6 separate regions of the Homo sapiens genome follow, and regions 2, 3, 4, 5 and 6 are each linked to region 1. Evidence: promoter capture Hi-C in 16 types of primary human blood cells and fetal thymus (Javierre and others, 2016). All regions are on one chromosome and are shown on one strand. Each heading gives the region's core, a stretch centred on a gene start or on the middle of the fragment in contact. The rest is flanking DNA. Distances are from core to core; before and after follow the strand shown.

Evidence for each region. Contacts are between HindIII fragments. The CHiCAGO score rates a contact against its expected background, and 5 or more counts as called.
Region 2: a contact is called between a fragment that was not itself captured here and the fragment with the promoter of UST in region 1, in 7 of 17 cell types (total B cells, naive B cells, M1 macrophages and 4 more). The highest score is 13.4, in total B cells.
Region 3: a contact is called between a fragment that was not itself captured here and the fragment with the promoter of UST in region 1, in 4 of 17 cell types (total B cells, naive B cells, total CD8 T cells and 1 more). The highest score is 9.0, in total B cells.
Region 4: a fragment that was not itself captured here is called in contact with the fragment with the promoter of UST in region 1 in 2 of 17 cell types (naive B cells and monocytes); the score reaches 5.4 in naive B cells.
Region 5: a fragment that was not itself captured here is called in contact with the fragment with the promoter of UST in region 1 in 2 of 17 cell types (naive B cells and total B cells); the score reaches 7.3 in naive B cells.
Region 6: a contact is called between a fragment that was not itself captured here and the fragment with the promoter of UST in region 1, in 1 of 17 cell types (monocytes). The highest score is 6.1, in monocytes.

Annotation. Positions count from the first base shown.
Region 1 is chr6:148,745,534-148,748,867 of GRCh38, forward strand. It overlaps UST (uronyl 2-sulfotransferase), which reads left to right and starts at 1,497. Exons shown (of 8, transcript NM_005715.3): 1 at 1,497-2,144. The coding sequence starts at 1,898. LOC124901425 (a long non-coding RNA gene) reads right to left here and starts at 66. Exons shown (of 2, transcript XR_007059806.1): 1 at 1-66. RefSeq lists enhancers at 1,126-1,185, 1,246-1,325, 2,634-3,135, 3,136-3,334 and silencers at 1,896-1,985, 2,286-2,455. The HindIII fragment of the contact is 11,485 bases long and covers 1-3,334 here.
Region 2 is chr6:148,996,828-149,000,161 of GRCh38, forward strand. The region is part of intron 5 of UST (uronyl 2-sulfotransferase); the gene reads left to right. Among named protein-coding and RNA genes, the nearest start is that of UST-AS1, 34 kb to the left of the region's middle. The HindIII fragment of the contact is 287 bases long and covers 1,415-1,701 here.
Region 3 is chr6:148,975,852-148,979,185 of GRCh38, forward strand. The region is part of intron 5 of UST (uronyl 2-sulfotransferase); the gene reads left to right. Among named protein-coding and RNA genes, the nearest start is that of UST-AS1, 13 kb to the left of the region's middle. The HindIII fragment of the contact is 5,795 bases long and covers 1-3,334 here.
Region 4 is chr6:148,549,234-148,552,567 of GRCh38, forward strand. SASH1 (SAM and SH3 domain containing 1) reads left to right here. Exons shown (of 20, transcript NM_015278.5): 20 at 1-2,811. Among named protein-coding and RNA genes, the nearest start is that of UST, 200 kb to the right of the region's middle. The HindIII fragment of the contact is 3,763 bases long and covers 1-3,334 here.
Region 5 is chr6:148,885,324-148,888,657 of GRCh38, forward strand. UST (uronyl 2-sulfotransferase) reads left to right here. Exons shown (of 8, transcript NM_005715.3): 2 at 1,663-1,706. Among named protein-coding and RNA genes, the nearest start is that of UST-AS1, 78 kb to the right of the region's middle. The HindIII fragment of the contact is 5,578 bases long and covers 1-3,334 here.
Region 6 is chr6:148,613,083-148,616,416 of GRCh38, forward strand. No RefSeq gene overlaps it. Among named protein-coding and RNA genes, the nearest start is that of UST, 130 kb to the right of the region's middle. The HindIII fragment of the contact is 1,483 bases long and covers 1,013-2,495 here.

The sequences.
Region 1 (3,334 bases), core at 247-2,746:
CATATTCATTCTTTCTTTCTTTCTTTTCTTTTCTTTCTTTTTTTTTTTTTTTGAGACGGTGTCTCGCACTGTCGCCCAGGCTGGAGTGCAATGGCGCGATCTCGACTCACTGCAACCTCCGCCTCCCGGGTTCACACGATTCTCCTGCCTCAGCCTCCTGAGTAGCTGAGGTTAAGACATATTCTTAACGAGTAAGTTCTTTGTCTAGGATAATATTTTGTAATTTTCCACAGAATATTCTTCAGATGCCTAACTTGATGAAGGTTTTCAGGAGCCTAGTCTTAGAATCATAGAGGTTCTTGGCTCCTGGTTCCTTCTTAAATCCAATTGTTCATTACTGGAATATACAAATGAGTAGGGAGCCAGAAATGATAGGCACCAGAAACTGAGGTTTCCATTTCTCAATGTGGCCTGAACTAAATGAATTAAATCTCATCCTCCTATGGGACGTGAAGGAAAAGGGCTCTGGCTGGGAAGTACTGCTGTGCAGTGGTTAGTATAGTGGGTCTGAGGGTCAAATAGATTTGAGTGCAACTCCCAACCCAACTCCTACTACTAGCTTTGGGACCTCGGGTGAGTCACACAGCCCTCAGGTGCTACAGCTTCTATAAATAGTGATATAGTATTCTTACTTAAAGTGTGGCTGATCAGAGCAGCCCTTCCGTGGATCAACCACCCCATCAGAGGATCTATGTCTAGGATTGAGCCTTTTCTGCCCCAGGAGGTTCTTTCAGGTCCAGAGGCTTTCCCGTGGAGGGAAGAGAGGCAGCAATGAAATCAGCGTATAGGCGGACTGGGCTCTTTCCCCTTCATGTCTGCAGGGCAATGACCTCCTAGAGTCCGCTATGCACCCCCCACTTGCCTCTCTGGGCACTGCGAGGTGGAGCAGTTGTAGGACCAGGAAAAGCAAGAACAGAGCGTCCTCTTCGGCTACCCTACCCGGGAGTTCAGGCGCTGCGCCTGGCCCTCTGGGGCGTGTTTGACCATAACTCGCACCGCTTGCTCTTTTCCCATTTCAGCAAAGTCTTGAGCCTGTATTCTAGTACCTTTTATCAGCCTTGGGTAAGCAGCTCGCACGGGGTATATAAGGAGAATCAACTTTCTGAACTGAAAAAAATGTAAATAGTAAAGTCAGTCGTGCTTCTTCCTGCCGGTGACTGTTTACAAGAGGGAAGTCAGCGGGGCCCCCAAGAGGTCGCTGGTGGCGCAGGAACCGCATCCAGATTGTAAAGAACGGGGGAAGGAAAAAAAAAGAAAACACCCAGAAACTTTCTTCCTTGTTGCGAATAATCGCCGCCTCCCCCCCTCCGCCCCCAGCAGAAGCAGTAACGTGACACCCGAGCGAAATCCCGAGACCCGAGCGGAGAGGGAGGGGAGAGGGAGGAGAGTGCTGCGGAGCGCCGGAGGGAGAAAGGGGAGGAGAAGGAGGAAAACCCCTGTCAAGGAGGTGGAGCGAGGGGATGGTGTCCGCCTCCTGTTCCTCCCTGCCGTTTTTTAGAGAAGCCTGAACCGGGACAAAACACGCCGAGACCTACAGACACAAAGCCGGGGGGTCCACGCTGGCGCTGGAGGCGAGCCCCGGCGGCCGCAAGCGAGCCCGAGGCGCGGCGGGGCGCGGGGCGTGGGGACGCTAGCGGGCGCCGGACGGGCGCGGCGCCCCGTCACGGGCAGCGCCCCGAACCGGGGCCGGACACCTCGGCCGCTCGGGCCGCGGCGGCGGGGACCATGCCGAAGAAAGTCTCCTGAGCCCGGCAACTTCGGCCCCTCCCCGCCCCCACCCGGCTGCCCTCCGCGCGGCCCTCCCCATGTGCAGCCGGCCAGCCGGGCTCTCCTCCTCGCGGCGGATGGGTGACCTTTTCCTGGCACGGGCAGGCTGTGGGAGGCAGCGGAGCAGGCGATGAAGAAGAAGCAGCAGCATCCCGGCGGCGGCGCGGATCCCTGGCCCCATGGGGCCCCTATGGGGGGCGCCCCTCCGGGCCTGGGCAGCTGGAAGCGTCGGGTGCCCCTGCTGCCTTTCCTGCGCTTCTCCCTCCGGGACTACGGCTTCTGCATGGCCACCCTGCTGGTCTTCTGCCTGGGCTCCCTCCTCTATCAGCTCAGCGGGGGACCCCCTCGCTTCCTGCTCGACCTGCGGCAGTACTTGGGTAAGGAAGCTGGGCAGGCGCTAGGGCGGCGCCGACAGCGCAAAGTTGTGCGGCGGGGAGAGGGTCGCGGCGGGGACTTCTCGCGCTGCCACCGCGCGCCGCCGCCGCCCCGGGTCTCTCCAGGTGCTAAGCCCGTGAGCATCTGTGCCGCGGTCGGGAGCGCCTTCTTCCTCCCGCGCGTCCGACTGTCCTCACCGAGGCGGGGGCGCCGCTGGGTTGCGCTGCCGGCAGGTACCCCGGGGCGAGGCACCGCTCACCTTCCCCCCGCCCCACCTCCGCCACCCGGATCCGGACTGGGGCGGAGTGGATGGGTGTGTGGGGTGTGCCGGAGTGTGTGTATCTTCAGGCCTGGCGGCGCGGGGAGTGGCGAAGGGAAGGGAAGGTCCTCTTCGTTGCATTGTTAGTGACCGCAGTTCAGTCCCGTCCCGCGCCCCGGGGAGTGTGGGTGGGTTTAGCCCTTTGCCACCGTCCGCTCTGAGAATTCTGTCCCGCAGATCCCCCGCCTGCCCGCCGGCCCTAGTGGCTCCGCGCTGTCCCCGGGCTGGCTTGTCCCTTGGCTGCCGCTGCCCACCCCGCCGCCCGCAGCTAGCCTGGCGCGGGGAACGGGTTGCATCCAGGGGTTTGGGGATGCCCGAGGGCGCTGGTCAGCCTGGCCAGCAGTGTCGCCCCCAGTAACCCGAGGATCCTCGGCGCTGTGTGCGTCTCAAGCTCAAGTCAAAACTTGTGTGTGTGTGTGTGTGTGTGTGTGTGTGTGTGTGTGTGTGTGTGTGTGTGTGGTTTATTAGGAGAGAGGCCGCCTGTCTTTAGCAGAAGTAAGGAAGGGGTTTGACGGGAGGGAAAGAGCCGCTCCAGCGAGAAGGCGTGACCCCGCAGCTCCCTCGTCTCGGCTGCGGGAGCCAGGGGTGCCAGGGACAGGCGAGCGCAAGCCCAGGTCGCAAGGACGATGCTGGCACTCGCGTTCGAGCCAAGGGAGGATGCAGATCCCTCCCAAGTCTGTGGCCAGAAGAGGTCGTGCGGGGGTGAAGGCTGGGAGAGCTCCAGCTTCTTGCAAGCATCCGAAGTGATAAGCCTGAGCATCTGCACGATGAGAGCGAGTGCGGGGAAGCAGAGCCACCGAAGTGCTGGAAAGAAAATGGGCCAAATGACCCGGGCCAGCTGGAGGCTGCCACAGTTACCCCAAACGTCACTTC
Region 2 (3,334 bases), core at 308-2,807, 250 kb after region 1:
TTAACCTAAAAAGGGGAGGGAATATCAATAAGAGAAAGGAAAGAGTAATAAGAGAAAAAAATGCTATTATAACACAGCCTTTATTTTTTATGTTTTTAATTAGAATTTTTATTTTAGATTCAGGTTGTATATGTGGAGGTTTGTTGCAAGGGTGTATTGCATGTGTTTGAGCTTCTGTTGATCTTGGCACCAGATAATGAACATAGTACCCAGTAGGAAGGCTTGCAGCCTTTGCTGTCTCCCTCCCTGCTTTTGGAGTCCCCGTGTCTGTTCTCATCTTCAGAGGATATGAACTGGGGTTTATGTTGGTTCACTAAATGTATATATCCTAAGATGTACCTGCATATAATAAAAATAGGGAACATTCTATAAGAAAGCTGTGAGAGAAATCTCAAATACCAGCATAATAAAGGGGCTTGATTTCGTAGCTTTTTTTCTTGGATTCCATGTAGTCATGTTTTATTTTAGAAGAGAAAGAATCCAGGAAGCAGGACCAATGAAAGGGTCAGAAATGAGATCTCTAAGCAAACTTAGGATGGAAAATTATAAAGGTCTGAGGATTCATAAAGAACCTGACCCACTGAAAACACAGTCCAAGAAGCTTTAGAGTGAGACAGATGGAAAATGAATGAGTGAATGAATGGATGAATGAAAAAATGAATTAGAAAAAGGGAAAATGAAGGCAGGAAAAAATTGAGCTTCCTTACAGAATGTTCTCTAATATTTTTATTATATGCAGGTACATCTTAGGATATATACATTTAGTGAACCAACATAAACCCCAGTTCATATCCTCTGAAGATGAGAACAGACACTGGGGAACACACTATACTAATAGTCATTTATTTTTTCTGGGATTTTTTTGTTTGCTTTTTATAACATTATGGAAAATTTTAAATACTCACAAAAGAGAATAGTCCAGTGAAGCTCCATTTCACAGACAATTCTTAGTCACTCATGATACTAGGATCTTGAGAAACCGAAGTTCCCTGTTAATTTAAAATAATTATTTTATTTAGGTTCAGCATCTCTTTATTGAACTTATTACGAGTCCTTAATGACCTTCTAAGTCAGGATCATGGAGCACAGAAAGGAGAAGCTGTGGGCTGGCCTAAAAAATAATCCACAAACATGCTGTTTATACCCTGGATAACCAGAGGTTGAAAGTGTGACTTTTGTGGTTTGTTTTGCGTTCTTAAGCCAAAACTATTAGACTATTGCATGTGAAAGAAAACGAAATTCTGAACCTCTTCAGCTAAGAAGGCAAAATCATCAAAATTCTGAGGCTAAGACAGTTTCTGTGGCTTTTCAAAACTTGTGTGGCCCAAAGGGGCCATAAATAACTTTTATGGTATAAATCCCTTAAAGAACATTCTTGGTTTCTCAGGAATTCCTGCCATTCTTACAGTCACAAAGCTTCATTTTGGCTGGGAAGATGTTTGAGCTTGAGTTTTCTGTTCAGTACTGCCTCCAGGAAGTACTAAACTGTGGAGACGTGGACTATGCTGTGGGCTTCTTATAACAGGTGAAATGAACAGATTTGAGGTGAATGATTCTTTTGTCTCCACCTCATAATTCAACTTTTCACCAAAATCTGCCGTATTCCTTCTGATCTCTGGCCTACGTTTTATAAACACCTTTTCCTTCTGGTATTACATGCAGAGCACAAAAAAGTTAAAATATATTTCCATGATTATTTTAAGCTTGAGAATAGCAAAATTGTAGCCCCCATAGGATGCACTGGCAGTGCATTCATATAATATCACACTGCCCCTCCTAGAGAAAACTCACAATGGTGATCTCTCCATTTTCTGTGTGGCTAAGTAGCGGGTAGGGATGCGGGCCCATCCATAAACCCGACCTCCTGCTTATTTTAAGAGTTTCATCAGCATCTCAAGATGAGTCAATATTAGAAGGATAGATAGTCCCATTGACTGTATGCTTCAGAATATAATCAGCGCAGCCCCTTATAGGCCGAGGCTGCTGCCATGTATGTGCTGGTCTGAATGCAGCAAGCAGCATAGCACTGCAGCCCAGGTGGCTGGTGCATGCCTGGTTAACCAAGGCAGCACTTGCAGCACTCACAGCAGTCAGCCAGTGGCAGAGATCCAGCCATGTGGCTCCTTCTGGGCTGTAGAGATGAGAATCACAGACAACCAAGATGCAAAATCCCGAAGTCATTATTCCTCTGAGTGGAGCCCGCATCTGGAATGCACCTTTTCCAGCAGGGAGTAGTTTATAGGTCATATAATGTCATTTCAGTCATGCAGATATCTAGCAAGAAAAAGTATCAACAATGATATATCTTTATCTATATGAACACTTAAGTACTTTTTGTTCAAAATTTAATGGTACTTGTATTCTGGACTTTACTGGTGAAATTTTTATGATGTTGTTTATTGAAAAACAGTAGTATCATCTGAAATCTTTCATTAGACACCCAGACTTCCATGGTGATTTGCTAGGCATAGCATAATTCAAATAAAAATTTCATTATCTTCAAAGACCACTTTTAGAAACTATAATAGAACACCTATCTGGCACTGGGTGGATACCGTAATACAGAGAAGCAAATCTTCTAGGTTAGAATATAATTCTGATACAGAATATGTAGAACAAAGATTATAACTTTTTATATTCATGGCATACTTCAAATATTGGAACTTTTGGCAACATGCAACACTAATAATAGACTCAAAGCAACACCATTAAGACAAACTCACTGCTATGATGTAACAGTGTCTCACAGGGTCTGTAAGAAGAACCCTCAGGAATAATGCTGTTTGATGTCTGACTTAAACTGTGCATTGTCCTTTACCCTCTGACATATAGAGCAAAAATGATTACGTTTCTCTAAACATGTGACCTTGCTTTGGCACAGACTTGACATCTTACTCAACTTCTTTCCTCTAACTTTGCAAGTTTCACTCCTTACATCCCAGGTTATCCATGCCTCTACACTCAGCATTTCCTCTGATAGACCTTCCTGTAGCAAAGAAGCATGAATAGCCCATACAGGGCTCCCAATCAAGATGGTATACTGAGTTCACACTCTCTTGACCCCAAATATATTGTAATGATTGATAGAATATAAAAAGAGGAAATCCAAAGGATTTACCAGCTTTATTATAAAATAAGAACATCCTCATGCATGGAGGAATTCCTGAGTGGTGAGCAATGATGAATCCACAGGCCAGCTGGGCTCTGGTCCAGAATCCAGTAGTGGCAGCCAGAAATAGGACAAGGTCAAGGAGACTAGAAGTGTCCTGGCCAACAAGAGGGCCAGACCAGGCTCAGTGCTTTAAACCAAGGCATGGGGTGAGAAGCCACACTT
Region 3 (3,334 bases), core at 503-3,002, 230 kb after region 1:
CTGTGGAAGGAGACATGACTGAGCTAGAGGATGGCAAAGCATATAGGCAATGGAAGAAATCACAAAAGAAATGAATTTTAGATTTGTCTTTAGATAATTTAACAGTTTATTTCACAAAAAGGCATTATAGGCAACATTAACAGGCAAATCGAATGGAGACAATATTTACAAATATGACAAAGAATTTATTCTTAAAGATATTAAGATATAAGAAGTCTTATAAATCAGTAAAAAAAAGACTAATTCCCCATTGAAAAATTACAAGTAAAATTCCGGATAATCTAAAAAATGCTCAGCCTCATCTATAATTTTTGAACTGCAAATTAAAGCAATATGTCACTTTTAAGGTATTAAACTGGCAGAGACTTCAGAAATTATAAGTAGTGGTATGCTCATAAATGTTTAATAACCACCTCTGGCGGGGGTGGGGGGTTGTTTTGTAACTTTGCCAATTTCTGTGGTGTCAATACTTCTCACCATGGTGATTTCAAACTACGAACATGACATCACTGAATACAGCAGAGTTAAGAGATGGGCATTTGCCTCTTATAAGCTGTTACTATCTGGCTCCAGCACATTTCCAATTCATACTCTGCTGTCAAGGGTACATCAGAATGGACATGTCCATGTATTTCTGGTATCAGGATTCCGGGAGCGTGGTCCATCTTGTGCATCATTCAATTCCTCCGCCCTTCACCTGCACACCATGTCATCATACGTTTTTATCTTTGCCAGGCTGAGAGATGAGAAATTATGTGTCAGTAGGATAAGTTGCATTTCTCTCGTTATGAGTGAAGTTGAGCATCTTCTCACATGTTTAAGAGGCATTTGTATTTTCCTTTCTCATCTTATCATTGCCCATTTTGCTAACATTCTGATCTCTAGAAACTTTTCAGAAAATTACAGAAATTTGCCCACTATTTTTGATATAAATTGCAAGTATTGTTTTCCTAGTTAGTAATCTCTTTTAACTTTCTTTGTGATGTTTTTTACATGCAGAATTTTATTTCTTTGTGGTCAAATTTATCAACCTTTTTCTTTTTATGGCTTCTGAGTTTTGTGTTATACTCAGAAGGATCTTATTAACTCTGAAACTATAAAAAATATTCTCCATGGTGTCTTCTAGAGTTTTGTTGTTATTCATGTTAAATTAAAATCTTTAATACTTCTGAAATTTATTCTGGTGTCAGGTATAACATATCAATGTAGTTTCTTTTTTTTCCAGATGGCTAACAAACTATCCCATTTATACAATAATTTGTGTTTTCCTCATTAAAGTATCACCTTTATTATATGAGAAATTCTTGGTTTTAGAGGGATCTGTTTTTTCTTTTGGCTTTTATTTTGTTCCATTAATGTGTATCTTTATATACAGAACACTATTCTATATATTTATATATATACACACTGTTGTAACCTATTGTATAATTACATAATACATAGTTTTATTATGTAATATGCAATAGTATAATTATATAATATAGAGTGACTATTTATATATACATTTTATTATCTGGCAGGGTCCAGTCTTTCCTCTTTACTCAGCTTTTTCCCCAATTGTCCTAGGTCTTTGTCTTTGTTCATTTTTCCTTAGGAACTTTAAAATCAGCTTGTTCAGGGTCGGGCGTGGTGGCTCACGCCTGTAATCCCGGCACTTTGGGAGGCCAGGGCGGGCGGATCATGAGGTCAGGAGATCGAGCCCATCCTGGCTAACATGGTGAAACCCCGTCTCTACTAAAGATACAAAAAAATTAGCCGGACGAGGTGGCGGGTGCCAGTAGTCCCAGCTACTCGGGAGGCTGAGGCAGGAGAATGGTGTGAACTCGGGAGGTGGAGCTTGCAGTGAGCCAAGATCGCGCCACTGTACTCCAGCCTGGATGACAGAGTGAGAATCTGTCTCAAAAAAAAAAAAAAAAAAAAGAAAAGAAAATCAGCTTGTTCAGCCGTCCGCTACCCCCACCCCACATTCATACCCAGAATACCCTGTGTGTTGGGTTTACTTTGAGCTTTAGATTAAGGTAGGGAGGATTGACGTCTGTATGTGGAGTCTTATTATTTGAGAATGTATTTTGCCTTTCCATTTGCTCAGAACTTCTGTTATATCTCTCCAGAGTTTTAAAGTTTTCTTCATTTAGATCTTGCACATTTCTTAAGTTGATTTCTAGATATTTGGTTTGTTGTTGTTGTAATTTTACATATTATTACTGTTACTAATTTCTATATATTACCTTTAACTCAGTCACCTTAGTAAGTGAATTCTATGTTTGTCAAGAAATTTTCACAGATTATTTTCAGTTTACCAGATAAAATTATATCCCCAGGTGATAATTTTATCTTTCTTTTTTCTAGTTTTTATAACTCTTATCCATTTGTTTTTGTTGTATCTCTAGAACAGTGTTAAATATAATGTTGATAAAAATGACCCAGCAATCCCATTACTGGGTATATACCCAAAGGATTATACATCACATACATTTTATAGTATATAGTCTTTACATAGGCTGTAAAGACACATGCACATGTGTGTTTATTGCAGCATTGTTTATAATAGCAAAGACTTGGAACTAACCCAAATGCCCATCAGTGACAGACTAGATAAAGAAAATGTGGCACATATATACCGTGGAATACTATGCAGCCATAAAAAAGAATGAGTTCATGTCCTTTGCAGGGACATGGATGAAGCTGGAAACCATCATCCTCAGCAAACTAACACAAGAACAGAAAACCAAACACCGCATGTTCTCACTCATAAGTGGGAGTTGAACAATGAGAACACATGGACACAGGGAGGGGAACATCACACACCGGGGCCTGTCAGGGGTTGGGGGGAAAGGGGAGGGAGAGCATTAGGACAAATACCTAATACATGCGGGGCTTAAAACCTAGATGACAGGTTGATAGTTGCAGCAAACCACCATGGGACGTGTATACCTGTGTAACAAACCTGCACGTTCAGCATATGTATTCCAGAACTTAAGGTAAAAATTTTTTTAAAAAAAAATTGGTTTCTCATAGAAGTCAGATAATTGAAGTAAAAGTTAAATTGCTAATTGCCAAATTTCGCTCATTTCTACTTTTATTCTACTAGAGTATGATGTCTAGGATCCAGATCCTTTGGGATTTCATCTCAGGGAGAATATAAGCAGCATCAGTCTCAACAACTAGTAATAGAAAAACCTAAGGAAAAAGACAAAGATTATCATATTAACACCCCTCGGCCCCGCATGCACCTGTAACCTACGTGTCCTTTTTGATAACCCACCACTTCCAGAGTGGCTTCATTGTCAACCACCTGTGTCACCAGAGTAAATTCAAGTGTGTCCTTTCTTGA
Region 4 (3,334 bases), core at 559-3,058, 200 kb before region 1:
ATCGAACCTCTCTGGGATGTTTCCAGCAAAAGTGAGCTTTTCTAATCGTCTCATTGTAACATGGCTTATTTTGTAGAGGTATTCATCAGCCACACACTTCATGTTGGTTTTTGGTTTTTAAGCTAACTACAAATCTAGTAAAAAGCTATCTGAAATTCACAAATATCATGTGTGTGCGTGCGTGCGTGCGCGTGTGTGTCTGTATTCATAGTGACTGCTTTTGGTTTTAACCAGTTTAGTATCGTTACTGTGTGGATCGTCGCGCTGCAGTATTGACTTGGAATCCTGACCATGTCCATCCCAAAATTCAGTCCTCAGTTAACGGATCATGTTTGCAAAAGGTCACTGTGAGGCTGCATATTTCAGAAAGATGTCCTTAATAAGGGAAGTCATGTATAAGATGTTTTCTAAAAGACTTTTCAGTATTACAACTAATACTATTATTATCCTTCTTTTTTTATTTAGATAATTCTTTTAATTTAAACAAAGGTTCACTATGGAACCAGACAAATCTCATTAGCCATGTGTTAAGTATTTGCTACTTTAAATTGTTTTACAACTGATTTCAGCACATTCTATCCTTTTTTTTTTTTGAAATGGAGTTTCGCTCTTGTCACCCAGGCTGGAGTGCAATGGCACGATCTTGGCTCACTGCAACCTCAGTCTCCCAGGTTCAAGTGATTCTCCTGCCTTAGCCTCCCGAGTAGCTGGGATTATAGGCACCCACCACCACGCCCAGCTAATTTTTGTATTATTAGTAGAGACAGGGTTTCACCATGTTGGCCAGGCTGGTCTCAAACTCAACTCCTGACCTCAGGTGGTCCACCCGCCTCAGCCTCCCAAAGTGCTGGGATTACAGGTGTGAGCCACCGCACCTGGCCTCTGTCCTCTTTTAGTCTAGTGTCTGGTTTTCTAGCAAACAGTAAATTTAAACAAGTAAACTATTATGGTTTCCATTGCTTACAAAATGATTTTCCTTTACATTCTTATCATGAACACTATTTTAAGCATCAAATGCAATCATCTAAAATATAAAGGTCAATCATTTATAATAGAAACACCTTGACCACAAGCCCTTGATTGAACATTTTATAATATTTCATCTACTTATTAAAACAAATAATTTCCCTTGGGTTGGAGGGGAAGTGATTTCATAAATTAATTAGAAAGCCATCTTTAGCATATTGCTTATGTCTGGATCCATGTTTCTGAGGAAAAAGACATTCTCAGGTGATGTATTTTTTTCATGCATTAGTATGCATTTTTAAAAAATAATGCATGTTTCTTTAATAATTAATTTTCATCTTCTATAAGATGCCATGTGAAGAAGTTGTGGAAATGTAGAATAAAAAGCTAAAGCTGCCAAATTTCTGTTGAACTCTTAAAAACAGCTCATGTTTGTTTGTCCTCTCGGGTTGTGGCCTAGCCTATTTGCAATGTAATGAAGCTGCAGGGTTCTTGTATAGCTAAAGCGTTCAATGCATTTCACGTGCTGTGGTGGATGTGGGTGCTGTAGACAGGCTTCTTCTCTTCCTGCTCTCAAAATACCTCGGCTTGACATTTGGACAGATCCTGTCATTGTTTAAGCTGAGCAAAAAACCACACAAAAGTTGTGTAAGAGATGAGATAACAAAGGAGCGAGAGAAATCTCATGTGAATTTCCAAGTTTTAATTCGTTCTCCATGAAGGATTTTCATTTCAGTGAAAGTCGCAGCAGAAGAGGGAACTTTCTGGAGTTTTTGAGAATGCCAAACCACATTTTTATCACACTTCTTTGGAAATCAATGCCTTTGCATAGAAAATCAAATTCAGGGACCACAAAGAATTTTCAGTGGGAATGTCTAGTCTGAGGGGTCTGAGGTTGTTTTTACTTTATTGTGTTGTTTAAATATTTTAAAAATATCTTTAGCGTTTGGTCTTTTTTTTTTCTGTAAACATTTAATTTGGTCTGAGAAAAGCTGAATGTTTGGGTGTGACGTTTGACTGAGGTGGATTGGGGCTGCCTGTGGACATTAGTGAACAGGTGGTAGGCTTCAGGAATATCCAGTTTTAATCAGTTGCATTTGGTACAGAATTTTGAGTAATGGTGAAAATTGTTGTCTTTGGAAAGCACAAAAGAAACCTGGAAAGGCAGTTCGGCTCAGGTAGCTACACATAACATTGTGTATGATTTTCACTTCAAAGCTGTCTGGAAGGAAATGCAGTCAGCTCCAGCTAGTACTATTTATGTACCCAGATAACTAAGATATTGTTTCATGGCCTTGCCTTAGTCAGAGGCCCTTTTCTCTGTCCTGAACCCCCAGGTATGGGTGAAATTGGAAATTACTAATCTATTGGAAATCAGTTCCTGACATAGTAAAGTTTGCTTTCATAACTGCAGCAAAAAAGGTCAACTTGCCAAGTCACTGCTGCCATGTGTGTACTGTATTATTTTCAGAAAAAAATATAATAGTCTGAGTCCAAGTTATCTTGATTTAAAATTGATAGAGAAAAGAAACTGTCGAGCAAGTTATATAACAACTAACAACATTGCACTTTCTGTATATGAAATCAATATTTAAATAACTTATTTTTCTCCATTGCTGTTCTTAAAAACATTGTAAGTAGCTGTAATATACCAGTACCAATATGTTCTTGCAATTGCTTCAGCCCAAGAAAGCTGTGTATTGTTTTAAAAATTGTAAAAATTATTGTGATGATTCATTTAGCATAAAGAGAGGTGGACGGAAGGGTTTTCCTATGTATCAAAACTTGTCTATAATTATGTCATCTATGTACCTAGAAAAAAGTAAATAAATTTCTTCAGTTGAATATGCCTTTTTTGTTGTTTCTTGGGTATTTTAAAGATGAATGGAGTAGAAATGAAAAGGAATTTATAAAGTGGTCAAATAATGAAATATACTGGGAAAATTGTAGTTGTCTGCAATTCTGCCATCACCAGAACTCACCCTCTGACATCCACCCAGATTCTCTTTGCCACTTTATTGCTTTATTTTCAAATATGCATAATCGAGTCATATAATGATAGCACCTTAGACCAGCAAGATATTTTTTGGAAGTCATCTTGAGTCTAAGATTATCATTTTCAAATGAAGAATCTGAGTCCATATGGATGATTGACTTGCTCAATATTATACAGCTAAATGACACCACCACCCATATCTTCTACTGAGAAAGAAAAAACAAGTCTAGGTCTGGATAGCCTAGAAATTAATCAACATGACAATAATGGGTTTTTAATTTCAGCGTACCACAATTGATACAAAGACACATTTTTAATAGGGAGAAGAGGGTGTTTGTAATAAACTTTGAGAGGTAATGTATGCATTTGAGA
Region 5 (3,334 bases), core at 571-3,070, 140 kb after region 1:
CACCAGCTGCACGGTGGTAGAATATTTCTAAATAGTTCTCTAGGCACAGGCAGCTATTTTTCTGAATTCTTTGACTCATATAACCTCTTTACTAAATCCAACATAGATCTTACATCCTATTCATGCACGCTCTCAGTGGAGTTCAGAAGTACATTAATTAAGGTCTAACAAATTGTTCATCATGTTCACATTTAAAAGGGTCCTAAAATAGCCCAATCATGGGCATGCTGGGTGTTTGTGTTTAAGTGTCTTATACACTAAAACTGGACCCTGATGTTCCTTTACTATATACAAATGGCCACTGTGAACACCAAGTGGGCTATAAATCAGAAGATGACAAAGAAAAGGGGAAGGATGATGACTCAGTATGGAAAAACCTATAAGCCAGAACCCGCTTATTTATTATGTTTGGATACATTTCCCCAGTTCAACTGTCCCTGGCTTAAGCCCTGCTTCCCCCTTCTTAGTCCAGTTTCTTAAGTCATTTTTGCTCTCTGCTGTCAAAAGCACCTTTCATCCACTCAGACTAAGACACTGACCTTATCCCCCAATCATCTACTGTTCTCTAGAGGTATTCTTGCAGTTCCGTTCCATGATTTTCTACATTTCATTCCATTAGCTTGTTTGGTCATTTTTACTTTTCTGGTGAGATGATTTTCCCTAGACTCACAAGAGTTACCCCTCTTGGATAGGCGCCTTCGATTATACTGATTGCATCTTTGGCTCCCCAGGTGATCAGATGTCTCCAGATGGTAATGTTTACAGTGCCTGCCTCACACAGAAGCCTGAGATGGCAGGAAGGACTCTAGGTAGGCTTTTCAGATGGGTAGATGCCTGAACATGCTCTGGAAAAACCAGTCTTCTCTCCTCTCTGCAGTTTACCAGCTGTGTGACTGTGCATAGGTTACTGAGTTTCTCCAGGCCTCTGTTCTCTCCTCTGTTAAAAGGGGACACTTCTAATCCATCTCTGGTATTTGCATTAAATAGATAAATACCTGTAAAGCACTTAGCAGAGTAGCTGCTACTGAAAGGAAGTCAGTAAACTTTAATTCCCTTCCAAATCCCTCTGAGTCTTTTATTCATCAGGAAACAATAGCCGTGCACTCTGAATACACACATGCCAGTAAATGGCTATTAGTGAAGACAAATCAAGCTCCGGAAGCAAGCTAGCCTGAAGAGAGAAGAGAAACAGACAATTTTAAGACAAATTGGAGAAAGAGAGTATGGGGTTCAGGACCGGCAGCATCAGTATCTCTTGGGAACTGGTTAGAAATGCAGGTTCTCAGACTGGGGCTGGGCAGTCTTGTTTCAACAAGCCCTGCGGGTAATTCTGAAGTACAATAACATTTGAGTACCAATGGTCTAAGCTAAACTCAGCAGATAATGGGTGAGAATAATGGTGCGTGTTACTGTGTGTGTTATGTATGTTTGTGTGCATACATAACCATGTATGTAGAATGTTTGTAACAGCTGAAACTATTAATCAAACATAGTAATATCAGCAAAATCCAGTCAAACCAGTGATTAATTCCCCATTTTTCTTTGGTACTGTTGTCTGAGCAGAAATACTGTATAACTAGAATGCTTATCTTCAATAACTTTGCACTAAATTCATTTGGGATTTAAAAAACGGATTCATCAACTTTTTCCTTTATTTTCTAGGAAATTCCACTTACTTGGATGACCATGGACCACCTCCTAGTAAGGTAAGATCTTTGCTTGTGATATAAGTCCCCTTTTTCTTTTATCTTACTTACAGCCTCCAACAAGCAGAACAGATCTCTCCTGGACACGAATCATTCACAAGAAACAGTAGATGACATATGTGAAATTGATGTTTAACTTCTAACAAGGAGGAAGCAGAAAAGCATGATGATAGCCCAGATGACAGGGAGAAGGAGCCATTGTTGAATCAGTGGCTGTTGCTGCCCAGGCATTGGAGCCTGAGACTGACTTCAGACCTCTGGCAGCTTCTCCTGTTTGCACCTCATTTTCATTTGCCTTGGCATCGATGCTGGCCCACAGTGTGATAGCCACACCCGGCCTCCCCATGCCTTCGGGCTTTGGGGCTAGACTCACATCTGTCCTGTTCTCTCCAGCCTAACTGGGTTGGGATACTCCACTTGAGGCCCTGCCAATACCACCTCAAGGCTGCCCTGGCCTGGCCTGTGAGTCCACTTTTGTTTTTCCTGTAAGCAGTTTTGTCTGACTTAAGGGGCAGAATAATCCTTTAGTATAGTTTCCCTAACACTGTTTACTTTCTTGAGCTCAATGAAAACCGAATGCTAATCTACTGAAAAGTGAGCAAACTAGAACAAATTGATCATTGTATATAAGAAAATACATGCAATGCAATTACCCTTTATTCTAACCGTATGTCCCTTGTACTTTTTTGACATCATTTTTTTTCCTTCTAGGAAATGATGGGGATTGTTGATCAGTACTTGGGAAGGGGTTGTGCTTGGCAAAATAAGAAGTTGGCAACCCTCTATCTGTCACTTCAAGAATGTTCTTTCTGGCCTGTGAAATCTTAAAGTGTAGATACAAGCACTCTAGCTCTCCCTGTACTTGGTTGTTTTCTTAGTCTTTGACCACTTAAGGTGATGCCTACAAAATGCAGTTGTAAATACACGGTGAGAAGATAATGAACCCCCAACCTTAGAGGCTTTGGGGAAATTTACTCCTGTATTAGTCCATTCCTGCATTGCTATAAAGAAATACCCGAGACTGGGTAATTTAAAAAATTCCACAGGCTGTATAGGAAGCATGATAGAGGCATCTACTCAGCTTCTGGGGAGGCTTCAGGAAACTTTCAATCATGGTGGAAGGCAGAGAGGAAGCAGGCGCATCTTACGTGGCCAGAGCAGGAACAAGAGGGATTGGGGGAGGTACCACACACTTTTAAACAACCAGATCTCACAGGAACTCACTGTCGCCATGACAGCACCAAGGGGGATAGTGCTAAACCCTGAAAATCCACCCTCATGATCCAGTCACCTCCCACCAGGCCACTCCGACACTGGGGATGACAATTAGACATGAGATTTGGGTGGGGACACAGATCCAAACAAATCAGCCCCAAAGTATGTTTAGACCACCCCCACATTCATGAGCATGAACTTTGGAAGAAGATATTTCTGGATTCAACACTGACGCTGCCACTTTCTAGCTGTGTGACAGTGGATGAATTACTTAATATTTTGAGCCTCAGTTTCTCATGTGCAGGGTGGGACTAAAAATACCGCTTACAGCACAGGATGCCTAAAATGATTGAATGAGCTGATGTATGATGAACACTTGACACTGACATGCGATAAACATTAAATCAAGGGTG
Region 6 (3,334 bases), core at 504-3,003, 130 kb before region 1:
TCTAATGGGCACACAGTTGTTAAAGTATCAGATATTGTAAAATTAATCATGATATATAATAAATACCACTACCTTCCCATCCCTTTTAAACTGTCACTTTTCTATCTTATAATAAAATTGCCTTTCCTATCAAGACTCTGAGAGGAAAAATGTCACTGGATAAGGTCACAAATATAATTCATCTCTCTATGAAATTTTCAGAAGTGGAAATTAAGGCAAACTTCATTCGTTAGCAAAATAAATCAAGGAATTACTTATCCACAAAAACAAACTTTTGGATGCCCAGTTACATTAACAGACAAAAAAGAAAAGAAGAAGAAAGATAATATTTCCAGGTTGTGCCCTCTAAGAGCATTCTTTTGACTGTTGTGATGCACTGATCTGTCATAACAAATTCAGATTGGCCCACCTTAGCCCCTCGGCCTGGCATGGAAGACAGCAGATTGGTTGCAGCTGGTCCACAATGGTGTCACTGGCTCACCCAGCCAGAGCTTATGAAAAACCTCAGTCTGGATCGCCAAGATGTTTTCCTCAAAATGATCCCATAGAGCTGCCACTCTGACAATACCAAGAAGGTCTTGAAAAGGACGGGGTTTGGAATACTATAGAATTATATAAGTGCTTCCTTTGCAACTCATCCTTCACCTTGGCAGGCATGCATCCTCAAGTTCAGTTCAGGACTTGCAATGACCAAGAGACCAGTTGATTTGGCTCCATTGACCTGGAGTGGATTCCTGGCTGAAAACCCAGGGCACTGACTTGAATGGTCAGATTTCCAAAATATAAAAGGAAACAGCAAGAGGAAAGGAGAAGGAGAATGGGGTGTGTGTGCACGTGTGTGTATGCATGTGTTAGTGCAGTTTTAGAGGCCTGTGTGGGTGAGAAAGGAGAGTGACACAAAACAGATCAGAAACCACGCCTGGCCTCCCATGTTGAATTTCTCCCCTTATTCCCTGTACTGGATGTTTGTCATTTGCCTCTCCAGCCTCAGTTTCTCTCTATTGCCTTAGGAAGCTTAATGTCAACAAGGATTCCCCATACCCTCTGGCTTCCAGTGGAATCAGCCAATGAATCAGTGGGCCCACTGGCAGGAGTTCTGAAAGCTGGAAGAGAGGGTGGTTGTTGGCAGGGGTTGGCTGCGTCCTTCTGTGAAAGCCACAGCTTTTACCAGGTGACTTCTCCGTGCTACCCTCTCGATGTTCTGGTGACTCGGCTCTCATTTTGCCCCTCAGACCAAGGGGTAGTGATGATGGATCTGTGCTGTTGCCAGTTTGGGAATCCTGCACTATTCTTTGTTGGTTCCCCTAAACCCTGCCTGCACCTCTAAATAATCTCTTTATTAAACTCTTCCCAAATCAAATTGTTTAAATATGGCATTGGTTTCCCATCATGAGTTGGACAGATATGTTCTACAAATATATGAGTTTTTGCAAAGGAGGTGACAGAGATTGAACTTGAGAAAGGCAAGTTAAAATTATAGTAGTATCAGTCCCAGTTCTAGGGCTATTGATAGTATTAAATCAAGTTTAGCCTAAAGCTGCCTCCTGACAATGTTTTAAGTTCAGCCTAAAGGTTTCTCTGTGCATCATGAACTATAACAAATGGAGGTGTACACAGACCGTAGCCCACACTTGTGCCAATCATGGAGTTTTGGCCAATCAAATGTAGCTGACTGTTCTAACCATGTTCAAATAAGGCAAACGGTGTACTGTAATCAATCTGGCTGTTTCTGTACCTCACTTCCCTTTTCCGTACATCATTTTCCTTTTTCTGTCCATAAATTGTCTTCCACCACATGGTTGCACTGGAGTCTCTGAGCATACTCTGGGTCAGGAGGCTGCCCAATTCACAAATCTTTCATTGCTCAATTGAACTCTTTTAAATTTAATTCAGCTGAAGTTTTTATTTTATCAGTGGCAATGAAAGAGACCCATTCTTTCATGTCTACACATGAACAAATAGAAAAAGCAGTGAATTAAAAGTCAGAAAACTTTGGATCTAGTCTGGAATTTATCCCACACTGGCTACATGGCCTTGGTCAATTAATTTACCTTTTGTAGGACTTAGTTTTCTCTTTTATATAATATAAATAATCTGCTCAACATACTTCATGGCACTGTTGGGAGATTCAAATATCAAAATGCTTTGAAAAAAGGCTGTTCCATGCTTATCTATTGTAAAAACTCAGTATGTTTTTCCAAGCATAGCAGTAAATCAGCTCCTTTGAAGATTTTACCAAGTCTCCCAGGAAGAATTAATTCTCCTTCTTTCATTTTCTCAAAATTCAAACTATTTTATACAGAGACTTTGATCAGTCAAGAGCGCTTAGAAGCAGGAAAGTCATGGGAACCTCAGACTTAGAGTGAGCATTTTGAATATCATGGAGCCTGATGAGGAAATGAACCTGTGGAGAGAAGGGGGTGGAGGAAGCATAGAGTGAGAAGTCAAGAGAAGAGGCCACACTGGCACAGACAAATGGAAATTTTATTCCTGGAAGCTTTGCAGATCCTAGAAGTCAGGGTTTGTATCTTGTTTACCAACCTTAGATTCCAAGACGCATCTCAGTGTCATAAATCTCCTCTGCAGTTGAGCTAGCTTCAGTGGGTTTCTATTTCTTGACAATCCAGTGAGCTTTGATTGGAGAGCCATCCTTAGCCACCTTCCGTGGTCCTGGCAGGGCTGCTGAGACTGAGTGAGTGAAGCCTGGCCAGTTGGATGCCACTCGGCCACTGTGGGCCTGCCATGGCCACTTTCCATGTGTCAGATATGGCTTCAGGCTTGCCATATTTCTTGTATTCACAGACTTTCCTCTTGCTCATAAGGTTTCCACAGCTTGGATGGAATCTTCTTTCATCTCCTGTAGAGCTGTCCCTTTTCCTTTGTCATCAAGTATCATGATCATTTTGTGGTTGGCCACTTTATTCCCACGGCTCCTTGTCCCTTTTCTCTACAGGTTCTTGCTTGCTGTACAATTTCCAATGCCTCACGAGTGTCCAGGGAACAGAGCAGAAGAAGAAGAACATGTAAAGAATGAAGATTTAAGCAAGCAATTAATGTAGGCCAGCCCTAAGCTTGGGAGACCTCTGGTCTTAACTTTGCCTCCCAGATCTGAGTTAGGGCCTGTCTTTGCCAGGGGGCCTTGGTTGACAGTAATTCCAATGGGCCCAGCTCATACTGAATCAAAAAGACAAGGTTAATTTGGGACTCCATTACTGATTTGCTTCTGGGGTCTGATAAAAGGGAACATTAAACTATCTCCTAAGGCAGCTGAAGAACAATCTGAATTTCTCCAATGCTTGGAAGTAACTTTTTCCTAGTTCTTAGGAGGGGTAAG